Regions from separate parts of the Homo sapiens genome. Here region 2 is linked to region 1. The links are contacts of gene promoters, found by promoter capture Hi-C in human tissues and cell types (Jung and others, 2019). All regions are on one chromosome and are shown on one strand. Each heading gives the region's core, a stretch centred on a gene start or on the middle of the fragment in contact. The rest is flanking DNA. Distances are from core to core; before and after follow the strand shown. Region 1 holds the start of GANAB (glucosidase II alpha subunit). Region 2 has its middle 7.0 kb from the start of SLC3A2.

Region 1 (5,923 bases), core at 2,629-5,128:
CAGTGAGCCAAGGTGGCGCCACTGCACTCCAGCCTGGGCGACAAAGCAAGACTCTATCTCAAAAAACAAAACAAAGGCCGGGCGCGGTGGCTCACGCCTGTAATCCCAACACTTTTGGAGGCCGAGGAGGACGGATCATGAGGTCAGGAGATCAAGACCATCCTGGCTAACACGGTGAAACCCCATCTGTACTAAAAATACAAAAAATTAGCTAGGCATGGTGGCGGGTGCCTGTAGTCCCAGCTACTAGGGAGGCTGAGGCAGGAGAATGGCGTGAACCCAGGAGGCGGAGCTTGCAGTGAGCTGAGATCATGCCACTGCACTCCAGCCTGGACAACAGAGCGAGACTCCATCTCAAAAAAAAAAATTCTCTTATGAGGGAAGTATTTTTATTATCCCTATTTAACATAAAAGGCAAAGCTCATACAGGAAAGGTAAGTTGCCTAACATCTCACAACACTCTTAAGTCTGTTTCTTTTGCTTCCTTGTAGTGCTCAGGAGCTGTCCCAGGAAATCAAGGCTTTTCTGACTGGCGTAGACCCCATTCTGGGCCACCAACTCTCAGCCCGGGAACATGCTCGCTGTGGTCTTCTCCTGCTCCGTTCTTTGCCACCTGCTCGGGCTGCTGTGCTTGACCACTTGAGAGGTGTCTTTGATGAGAGTGTCCGGGCCCACCTGGCTGCCCTGGATGAAACCCCTGTGGCTGGTCCACCTCACCTCCGTCCACCTCCACCCTCTCATGTCCCTGCTGGTGGACCTGGTCTAGAGGATGTGGTTCAGGAAGTGCAGCAGGTGCTGTCTGAGTTTATCCGGGCCAACCCAAAGGCCTGGGCACCTGTGATTAGTGCATGGTCCATTGACCTCATGGGGCAACTGAGCAGCACGTACTCAGGCCAGCACCAGCGTGTTCCCCACGCTACTGGCGCTCTTAATGAACTGCTACAGCTGTGGATGGGTTGTAGGGCCACGCGTACATTAATGGACATCTATGTGCAGTGCCTCTCGGCTCTCATTGGTAGCTGCCCAGATGCGTGTGTGGATGCCTTGCTGGATACCTCTGTTCAGCATTCTCCACACTTTGACTGGGTTGTGGCACATATTGGCTCCTCTTTTCCTGGCACCATCATTTCCCGGGTTCTCTCCTGTGGCCTTAAGGACTTTTGTGTCCATGGTGGGGCTGGAGGTGGAGCTGGCAGTAGTGGTGGAAGCTCTTCTCAGACCCCCTCTACAGACCCCTTCCCTGGATCTCCTGCCATTCCTGCGGAGAAACGGGTGCCCAAGATTGCCTCAGTTGTAGGCATCCTAGGTCACCTGGCCTCCCGCCACGGAGATAGCATCCGACGGGAGCTCCTGCGAATGTTCCATGATAGCCTGGCAGGGGGATCTGGAGGCCGCAGTGGGGACCCCTCCCTTCAGGCCACGGTTCCGTTCCTACTGCAGCTGGCAGTCATGTCACCAGCTTTGCTGGGCACTGTCTCTGGAGAGCTTGTGGATTGCCTCAAGCCCCCAGCTGTGCTGAGCCAGCTGCAGCAACACCTTCAAGGATTCCCCCGAGAGGAGCTGGACAACATGTTGAACCTGGCTGTGCACCTGGTGAGCCAGGCCTCTGGGGCAGGTGCCTACCGCTTGCTGCAGTTCCTGGTGGACACAGCTATGCCTGCTTCGGTCATTACCACCCAGGGCCTGGCTGTGCCAGACACCGTGCGTGAGGCTTGTGACCGGCTAATCCAGCTGCTGCTGCTGCACCTGCAAAAACTGGTTCATCACCGGGGAGGGTCTCCTGGGGAAGGGGTGCTAGGCCCGCCCCCACCTCCCCGCTTGGTGCCCTTTTTAGATGCGCTCAAAAACCATGTTGGAGAGCTGTGTGGAGAGACGTTACGATTGGAACGGAAGCGCTTCCTCTGGCAGCACCAGCTCTTGGGCCTGCTGTCTGTCTATACCCGGCCTAGCTGTGGACCTGAGGCCTTGGGCCATCTGCTGAGCCGAGCCCGAAGCCCTGAAGAGTTGAGTTTGGCCACCCAGTTATATGCAGGGCTAGTGGTCAGCCTCTCTGGCCTCCTGCCCCTGGCTTTCCGAAGCTGTCTGGCTCGGGTGCATGCAGGGACATTACAGCCTCCCTTCACGGCCCGGTTCCTGCGCAACTTGGCACTGCTAGTAGGGTGGGAACAGCAGGGTGGCGAGGGCCCTGCAGCCCTAGGGGCGCACTTTGGGGAATCTGCCTCAGCCCATCTGTCTGACCTGGCTCCTCTCCTGCTACATCCTGAGGAGGAAGTAGCTGAAGCTGCTGCCTCTCTCCTGGCCATTTGTCCCTTTCCTTCTGAAGCCTTATCCCCCTCCCAGCTCCTGGGACTGGTAAGGGCTGGGGTGCACCGCTTCTTTGCCTCTCTGAGGCTGCATGGACCCCCAGGTGTGGCCTCAGCCTGTCAGCTTCTCACCCGCCTGTCTCAGACATCCCCAGCTGGGCTCAAGGCTGTCCTGCAGCTGCTGGTTGAAGGAGCCTTACATCGAGGCAACACAGAACTGTTTGGTGGGCAAGTAGATGGGGACAATGAGACTCTCTCAGTTGTTTCAGCTTCTTTGGCTTCTGCCTCCCTGTTGGACACTAACCGGAGGCACACTGCAGCTGTGCCAGGTCCTGGAGGGATTTGGTCAGTTTTCCATGCTGGAGTCATCGGCCGTGGCTTAAAGCCACCCAAGTTTGTCCAGTCACGAAATCAGCAGGAAGTGATCTATAACACCCAGAGCCTCCTCAGCCTCCTGGTTCACTGCTGCAGTGCCCCAGGGGGCACTGAATGTGGGGAATGCTGGGGGGCACCCATCTTGAGTCCAGAGGCAGCCAAAGCAGTGGCAGTGACCTTGGTGGAGAGTGTGTGTCCCGATGCAGCTGGTGCAGAGCTGGCCTGGCCCCCCGAGGAACACGCCCGGGCCACCGTGGAGCGGGATCTCCGCATTGGCCGGCGCTTCCGCGAACAGCCCCTGCTCTTTGAGCTGTTAAAGCTGGTAGCAGCTGCACCCCCAGCCCTGTGCTACTGTTCCGTGCTGCTTCGGGGGCTGCTGGCCGCCCTCTTGGGCCATTGGGAAGCCTCTCGCCACCCTGACACGACCCACTCCCCCTGGCACCTGGAGGCATCCTGCACCTTAGTGGCTGTCATGGCTGAGGGAAGCCTCCTGCCTCCGGCCCTGGGTAATATGCATGAAGTATTTAGCCAACTGGCACCTTTCGAGGTGCGTCTGCTGCTGCTCAGTGTCTGGGGTTTTCTCCGGGAGCATGGGCCCTTGCCTCAGAAGTTCATCTTCCAATCAGAGCGGGGTCGCTTCATTCGGGACTTCTCCAGGGAGGGTGGAGGTGAGGGTGGACCCCATCTGGCTGTGCTGCACAGTGTCCTCCACCGCAACATCGACCGCCTAGGTCTTTTCTCTGGCCGTTTCCAGGCACCTTCACCGTCCACTCTCCTTCGACAGGGGACGTAGCCTTTTCTTGCTCTGGAAGCCCAGGGAGGTTGAGCAGTGAGAGAGGGAAGGGACTAACGTGCTCCGGAAGGGTGGAGGTTTCTCTTCTAAGTCCTTGGTCTAAAGAGCGCTGTCACTTTTTTCTCTCCCACTTTTTTTTTTCTAAATAAAATTTGCCAACTTGAGAAAACCAGTCCAGTGCTTCTGTCATGCTGAGAGCGTGCAAAGTCTGACAGCGCCTGGCTCTGGACGTTCCCGCCCCTGGCCTGAAGCCCCGCCCCCTGCGATAATTTGGAGTGCGCACTCTACCAATGAGACAGCTGCCCGGCGGCGCTCAGGTCGAACCAATCATAAGGCCGGAAGGGGCGGGAACTAGGATACGTGGCTGAGCGCGCGCGATGGGGCGGGAGGTTTGGGGTCAAGGAGCAAACTCTGCACAAGATGGCGGCGGTAGCGGCAGTGGCGGCGCGTAGGAGGCGGTGAGGAGCCCGGAATCTGGGGGCGCGCCCGGGACGCCCCCAGATCCCCCAAGTCCCATTCCACTCCTTCCTGTGTGTCTCTTGACACTCTGCCACCCCCGGCCTCGTGAGGAACCTTTGTTCCTCTGGAGGCGGCCTCAGACGCCTCCGGTCTCCCCGTGGTAGATCCGAGCGACGCTGGGGGCCTTGCCTGTGGGGCTCCGGGCTCCCGCCCGGCGGTTTAGTAAAGCCACAGCTGTGCGTCTTTCTTGGTCTTGGCCGCTCTCAGCCGCCGCCCTCCTTTGGCTGCTTGCGGCGGTCAACGTCGCCGCCCCCTTCCTGCAGTGCGCGGGGTCGTCGGGGCGGGGGAAAAGATGCGGCCTGGCCTCGGGGAATGCAGCCTGCGGCCCCGCGGCCCCTCGGCTGAGCTGGAAGCACCGGGCCAGCAGTTAAGCCTGTACTACCCTTCTGGCTCTACCCTGTAGAGCTCCGAATCCTCCTCTGCCCTTGTCTTCACGTGAGCACCAGCTCTGGCTTAGTTCAGTGTCCACGGTCGCTGGGCACGGCCCAGGGTCCAGTAAGCTCACGGCGTGGATGGTGTTGCTCAAACACAACATGTAATCGAATGGCTTGGTCCACGCTCTCGGGTTTATATTACTGGGGAAAAAAAAAGATTCGAAACATATCACCAGTGCCACAAATGTTTACTAGGACCTAACGGATATACTGGGGTGGGGTAGGCGTGTACTCTCCAAAGCGATGAAGAAAGCGTGGATCATAAACTCAGTTCCCTCGGAGCCTGTGATCTGAAACAATAAATGCGTGCAACTTGCCCTGCAGCTTATTCCTGACTTTGGCCTATGAACACCTCTCTTGGGGTGGTCAAGGCCGCCGTGAATTCCTTAGGGCCCTCCAACAGGTCATATCTGAAAGATGCTTTAGGAATCCTATCTCCATTGGCATCTTTCCGAACCAATTTTACAGACTGTGCAAATAGGGCCCCAGAGGGTATTTAACTCACTGTACGTCTTTTTTTTTTTTTTTTGAGAGACAGAGTCTCGCTCTGTTGCCCAGGCTGGAGTGCAGTGGCGAGATCTCGGCTCACTGCAAGCTCCGCCTCCTGGGTTCACGCCATTCTCCTGCCTCAGCCTCCCGAGTAGCTGGGACTACAGGCACCCGCCACCACGCCTGGCTATTTTTTTGTATTTTTAGTAGAGACGGGGTTTCACTATGTTGGTGAGGATGATCTCGATCTCTTGACCTCGTGATCCACCCGCCTCGGCCTCCCAAAGTGCTGGGATTACAGGCGTGAGCCACCGCGCCCGGCCTCAACTCACTGTACTTCTATTTACTGCTGCTTTTGGCAGGTGGACGTGGGTCAGTGGCCAAGAGTGCCTGTTGCAGTCACTCAGGTCACTCACTGCAGGACCTGTGCCGCATGCCTTGCTATGGAGTTTTGTGGTAGCATTTATTCTGCTTGGCCTATTAAACCACAGTGCCTAGTGTTTTCTTCATTTTTCTGTCTGGCCTGCTGTGGAACAGTTGTTTCGTACATTCCTCTGGAGCTGGAGGAGAGTCCTGTGATGAGATCATAGTACACTCTGTGATCTCATTTCTGGTAATTTTCTTTTAGCTTTCAAGCAGATGCTGAAGCTAATGCTAGATAACTAGATACAATGTGTATAATAGACCCTGTCTTTAGTTACCTTATTATAGGTTGTCAAATTTTATTTATTTATTTATTTGTTTGTTTACTTATTGAAACAGGGTCTCGCTCTGTTGCCTAGGATGGAGTGCAGGGGTGCAATCTCGGCTTACTCCAGCTTCCACCTCCCGAGTTCAAGCGATTCTCCTGCCTCATCCTCCCGAGTCCTGGGATTACAGACGTGTGCCACCGTGCCCAGCTAATTTTTGTATTTTTAGTAGACACCCCATTGACCAGTCTTAATTAATTTACTTTTTTGAGACAGAGTCTTGTGCTGTGGCCCAGGCTGGAGAGCAGTGGTGCAATCGTA
Region 2 (5,631 bases), core at 243-2,742, 230 kb before region 1:
GCAGGGATTGCAGTGAGCCAAGATCGCGCCATTGCACTCCAGCCTGGGCAACAAGAGCAAAACTCTGTCTCAAAAAAATAATATAAAATATAATAATAAAACTAATAAATTAGGAGATGGAGGACAGGAAAACAAAAAGACTACAGAGAAAAGACTAGAGAAATGGACCAGAGGTGAGTAAAGAGCCTCAGATCCTGCCATATGTGTTGATATAAAGCTTAATATTTACTATAGGAACACAAAGAATATAATTTTTCAAGAATTTAGCCTTCAAGAGAAGGCTGGGCAAAGCAAAGGAAAAAAAGCAGTTTGGCAGCCCAGATGCCAATAAGGTCCACTTTACACTCAGACAGACAGATGGCGGTGGAGCCCTGAAATGCAGGGGGCCAAGTATATAAAGAAAGTTCCTTTCTAACCCTCTGCTGCAAAAATCCATGTCACATGCTTCCTAACACATGAGGATTATTACTTGATCTTAGCCTGAAAACAGGACATTTATTTTTCCTCAAACATGTAAAAAGGATTGACCAGGCACAGCAGCTCATGCCTTTAATCCCAGCGCTCTGGGAAGCTAAGGCAGGAGGATCACTTAAGCCCAGTAGTTTGAGACCAGCCTCGGCAACATAGGGAGACCCCATCTCTACAAAAATTAACAAATTAGCCAGGCATGGTGGCTCACCCCTGTGGTCCCAGTTACTAAGGAGGCTGAAGTGGGAGGATCACTTGAGCCCTCAGGTTGAGGCAGCAGTGAGCTGTGATCACAATCACACCATTGCATTCCAGCCTGGCTGACAGGGTGACCCTATCTGAAAACAAACAAACAGGCTGGGCGCAGTGGCTCATGCCTGCAATCCCAGCACTTTGAGAGGCTGAGGCGGGCGGATCACCTGAGGTCAGGAGTTTGAGACCAGCCTGGCCAACGTGGTGAAACCCCATCTCTACTAAAAATACAAAAATGAGCTGGGCATGGTGGTGGCTGCCTGTAATCCCAGCTACTCAGGAGGCTGAGGCAGGAGAATCGCTTGAACCTGGGAGGCAGAGGTTGCAATGGGCCCAGATCGTGCCATTGCACTTCAGCCTGGGCAACAAGAGCAAAACTCCATCTCGAAAAATAAACAAACAACTAAAAACATCTAAGAAGGACTTTTTTTTTTGAGATGAAGTCTCGCTCTGTCGCCCAGGCTGGAGTACAGTGGTGCGATCTCAGCTCACTACAAGCTCTGCCTTCCAAGGTTCACACTATTCTCCTGCGGACTCCAGGTGCCCACCACCACGCCCAGCTAATTTTGATTTTTTTGTGTATTTTTAGTAGAGACGGGGTTTCACCATGTTAGCCAGGATGGTCTTGATCTCCTGATCTCGTGATCCACTCGCCTCGGCCTCCCAAAGTGCTGGGATTACAGGCGTGAGCCACCGTGCCCGGCCACATCTAAGAAGGATTTCTAAAGGCAGAGAGAAGATGGGAGGACAGCTAGAAACTCTTCAGGAGACTGTCTCTGTCCAACAGCCTCCATAAATCTTCGAAAGCCCAAGACTCTATTCCAAAGACCCAGAAACAAAACATCAAAGCTGCCTCTAAAATACCAATCAGCCAGAAATCTTGAAGATTTTAGCCATTTGAAAAATGAGGCCAGTGTGGTGGCTCATGCCTGTAATCCCAGCATTTTGGAAGAATGAGGCGGGCAGATCATTTGAAGTCAGGAATTCGAGACCAGCTTGGCCAACATGGCAAATCCCCATCTCTACTAAAAATACAAAAATTAGTCGCACACGATGGCGGGTGCCTGTAATCCCAGCTACTTGGCTGAGGCAGGAGAATCCCTTCAACCTGGGAGGCGGAGGTTGCAGTAAGCTGAGATTACACTGCACTCCAGCCTCGGTGACAGAGCAAGACTCTGTCTCCAAAAAAAAAAAAAAGAAAAAGAAAAAGGAAAGATGGGTGAGGAATTGAGCATTTGGAAGTCAAAGCGTGGCTGAAATTAAAGCAGAGAAAAAGACTCCAACTAAAGCAGTTCACTTCGCAGCTACTATCTGAAGAACCCATGTCAGAATACTATTAATTGTTACTATGAATCCTATAGGAGGGACACTGGCTGCTAAAGAAGAGACCTGTCAGGGTTGTCTTACTAAAGGGTGAAGAATGCAAAGTGGGGATAAAAGCCAGAAAGAGTGAAAGAAATAGAACCAAAGTCATCTCTTAGGAGAAGAGAAATAAATGCACCATCTGAAAAGTATCCAGTATTCAAGTAAGTTAGACAAATGAAAAACATTGCAGCAAGCCATTCTCTCAAATGAAACCAAATACTAAAAGATAAACACCAGAGAAATAGCAGGTCAGTATGTGGAAAATATGGGGTAGTACTTTTAACATATTATCCTTGGATTAATGACATCAGATATTCAACTGATCAGAGACAGAATACTTAATCTCATCAAAAAAGATAAGTAGCAATAAGAGACCTTAAAATGATCACTGAGGCCCTCCAACAGCAGCTATTTCTGCAGTCATGATCACACAATACTGCATCCTCATTTTCTCCCTCCCCTGGCCCTCCAAAACTTTGTCATCACACTCTGAGGAAGAGAATCACTAAGCGCAGCCTGCACTCAAGATGTACAGAGTTAAACTCTGTATCTCTGGGCAGAGGGAAGATCTACATAAATTATTTGAGACTCTTTCTCCAAAAAAAAAAAAAAAAAAAAAAAAAAAAAAAAAAAAATTAGCTGGGCATGGTGCAAGTACCTGGGGTCCCAGCTACTTGGGAAGCTGAGGTGGGAGGGACCACTTGAGCCCAGGAGGTTGAAGCTACAGTGAGTTATGATTGCACCACTGCACTCTAGCCTGGGCAACAGAGCTAGAACTGGTCTAAAATAATTAAAATAAAAATTAGAAATAAACAAAAAAACAAATAACTGATGAGCCTGGCCAGGTGCCATGGCTCACGCCTGTAATTTGGGAGGCCAAAATGGGAGAATCATTAGAGCCCAGAAGTTTGAGACCAGACAGGGCCACGTAGCAAGACCCCGTGTCTCTATAAAAAAAAGTTTGATTTTAATTAGCTGGCCGGGTGTGGTGGCTCACACCTAGTACTCCCAGCACTTTGCAAGGCCAAGGTAGGAGGATTACTTGATCCCAGGAGTTCAAGACCAGATTGGGCAATATAGTGAGACCTTGTCTGTACAAAATTTTTTTTTTTTTTTGAGACAGAGTTTCGCACTGTCACCCTGGCTGGTGTGCAGTGGTGCGATCTCGGCTCACTGCAACCTCTGCCTCCCAGGTTCAAGTGATTCTCCTGCCTCAGCCTCCCAGAGTACCTGGGACTACAGGGGCCCACCACCATGCCCGGCTAATTTTTGTATTTTTAGTAGAGACGGGGTTTCACTAATGTTGGCCAGGCTGTTCTCGAACTCCTGACCTCATGATCTGCCCGACTTGGCCTCCCAAAATGCTAGGATTACAGACGTGAGCCACCAGGCCCGGCCACAAAAAATTTTTTAAATTAGCTGAGTGTGGTTGCACATGCCTGTAGTCCCAGCTACTCGGGAGGCTGAGGTGGGAGGTATCACTTGAGCCTGGGAAGTTGAGGGTGCAGTAAGCTGAGATCACACCACTGCACTCCAGCCAAGGCCACAGAGCGAGACCCTGTCTGAAAAATATATATATATTTTATAATCAATAAGGTGAAAGAGAATATAAAATATTGAGAAGTAGATATTTAGAGTATGGTATGCTGTAACAGAAAATTGAATTTGAAATATCACTCATTCTGCAACTAAAAAATTGGTTAGGCCAGGCACAGTGGCTCACGCCTGTAATCCCAACACTTTGGGAGGCCAAGGCGGGCGGATCACCTGAGGGCAGGAGTTAAACACCAGCCTGACCAACATGGAGAAACCCCATCTCTACTAAAAATACAAAATTAGCCAGGTGTGGTGGCACATGCCTGTAATCCTAGCTACTCAGGAGAATAAGGCAGGAGAATCACTTGAACCGGGGAGGCAGAGGTTGCAGTGAGCCGAGATCGAGCCATTGCACTCTAGCCTGGCCAAGAAGAGTGAAACTCCGTCTCAAAGAAAGAAAAAATTGGTTAATTTCAACACCAAGTCTCTTAAAAGGAGGCTGGACTATAGAGAAACTAAAGACAAATTCTGTTTTCTGTTTCTTGGGTTTTTTTGAGACAGGGTCTCTCTCTGTTGCCCAGGCTGGAGTGCAGTAATGTGATCTTGGCTTACTACAGCCTTGACTTCCTCAGCTTAAGCAATCCTCCCACCTCAGCCTCCTGAACAGCTGGTATTACAGGAGCATGCAACCATGCCTGGCTAATTTTTGTATTTTTTGGTAGAGACAGGGTTTTGTCATGTTGTCCAAGCTGGTCTCGAACTCCCGGGTTCAAGTGATCTGCCTCCCAAAGTGCTAGCATTAGAGGCGTGAGCCACTGCACTCAGCTAATGAATTCTTTTTTTAAAAAAGCAGAGGGCCAGGTGCAGTGGCTTACGCCTGTAATCCCAGCACTTTGGGAGGCCAGGCAGACGGATCACAAGGTCAGGAGATCGAGACCATCCTGGCTAACATGGTGAAACCCCGTCTCTACTAAAAATACAAAAAAAATTTAGCCAGGCGTGGCGGTGTGTGCCTGTAGTCCCAGCCACTTGGGAGGCTGAGGCAGGAGAATGGCGTGAACCCAGGAGGCGGAGGTTGCAGTGAGCTGTGATCACGCCACCGCACTCCAGCCTGGGCGACAGAGCAAGATTCCATCTCAAAAAATAATAATAATAATAATAAAATAAAGATTTGATGTCATAAAGAAATTAGTGCTCCCCAAACAATCTAAAAATCCAAATGCAATTCTAATACAAATCTTAATATCTGGTGGTGAGAACTTTGTAAGATGACTCTATAATTCATGTGCAAGAGAAAAGGGCAGAGAATAGTAAAGATATCTTTAAAGAAAAAAAATCGTATTTTTAAAGACAAATTCTACCAGATAGCAAGCATGTTATTTGCTAAAATAATAATTACCTGTAACCTCAGCATTCTTGGAAGCTAAGGCAGGAGGATCACTTGAGGCCAAGAGTTGAAGACCAGCCTGGGTAACACAGTCAGACCCCGTCTCTACAAATAATAATAATAATAATATTATATAAAGTATGGTTGGGCACAGTGGCTCACGCCTGTAATCCCAGCACTTTGGGAGGCCGAGACGGGCGGATAACCTGAGATCAGGAGTTCGAGACCAGGCTGGCCAATGAGGCAAAACTCCGTCTCTACTAAAAATACAAAAAATTAGTCAGGCATGGTGGCGGGTGCCTGAAATCCCAGCTATTTGGGAGGCTGAGGCAGGAGAATTGCTTGAACCTGGGAGGCAGAGGTTGCAGTGAGCCAAGATCACGCCACTGCACTGCAGCCTGGGCAACAGAGCAAGACTTCACACCAAAAAAAAAAAAAAAAGATAAGCCCTACCAGGCAGCAGGCATGTTATTTGCTAAAGGAATAATTACCTGTAATCAGGCCGGGCGCAATGGCTCACGCCTGTAATCCCAGCACTTTGGGAGGCCAAGGCAGGCGGATCACAAGGTCAGGAGTTTAAGACCAGCCTGGCCAATATGCTGAAACTCGTCTCTACTAAAAAT

Evidence for each region. The method cuts DNA at HindIII sites, captures the fragments that hold promoters and counts their contacts. A contact is called where the count stands out against the background at its distance.
Region 2: a contact is called between a fragment that was not itself captured here and the fragment with the promoter of GANAB in region 1, in 1 of the 25 tissues and cell types used here (spleen).

What each region holds. Positions count from the first base shown.
Region 1 is chr11:62,644,568-62,650,490 of GRCh38, reverse strand. GANAB (glucosidase II alpha subunit) reads left to right here and starts at 3,878. Exons shown (of 24, transcript NM_198334.3): 1 at 3,878-3,929. The coding sequence starts at 3,892. It overlaps INTS5 (integrator complex subunit 5), which reads left to right. Exons shown (of 2, transcript NM_030628.2): 2 at 492-3,643. The coding sequence ends at 3,471. RefSeq lists a silencer at 3,707-3,786 and enhancers at 4,397-4,556, 4,872-5,679. The HindIII fragment of the contact is 17,220 bases long and covers 1-5,923 here.
Region 2 is chr11:62,871,059-62,876,689 of GRCh38, reverse strand. It overlaps a transcript of SLC3A2 not described here. Among named protein-coding and RNA genes, the nearest start is that of SLC3A2, 7.0 kb to the left of the region's middle. The HindIII fragment of the contact is 8,872 bases long and covers 1-5,631 here.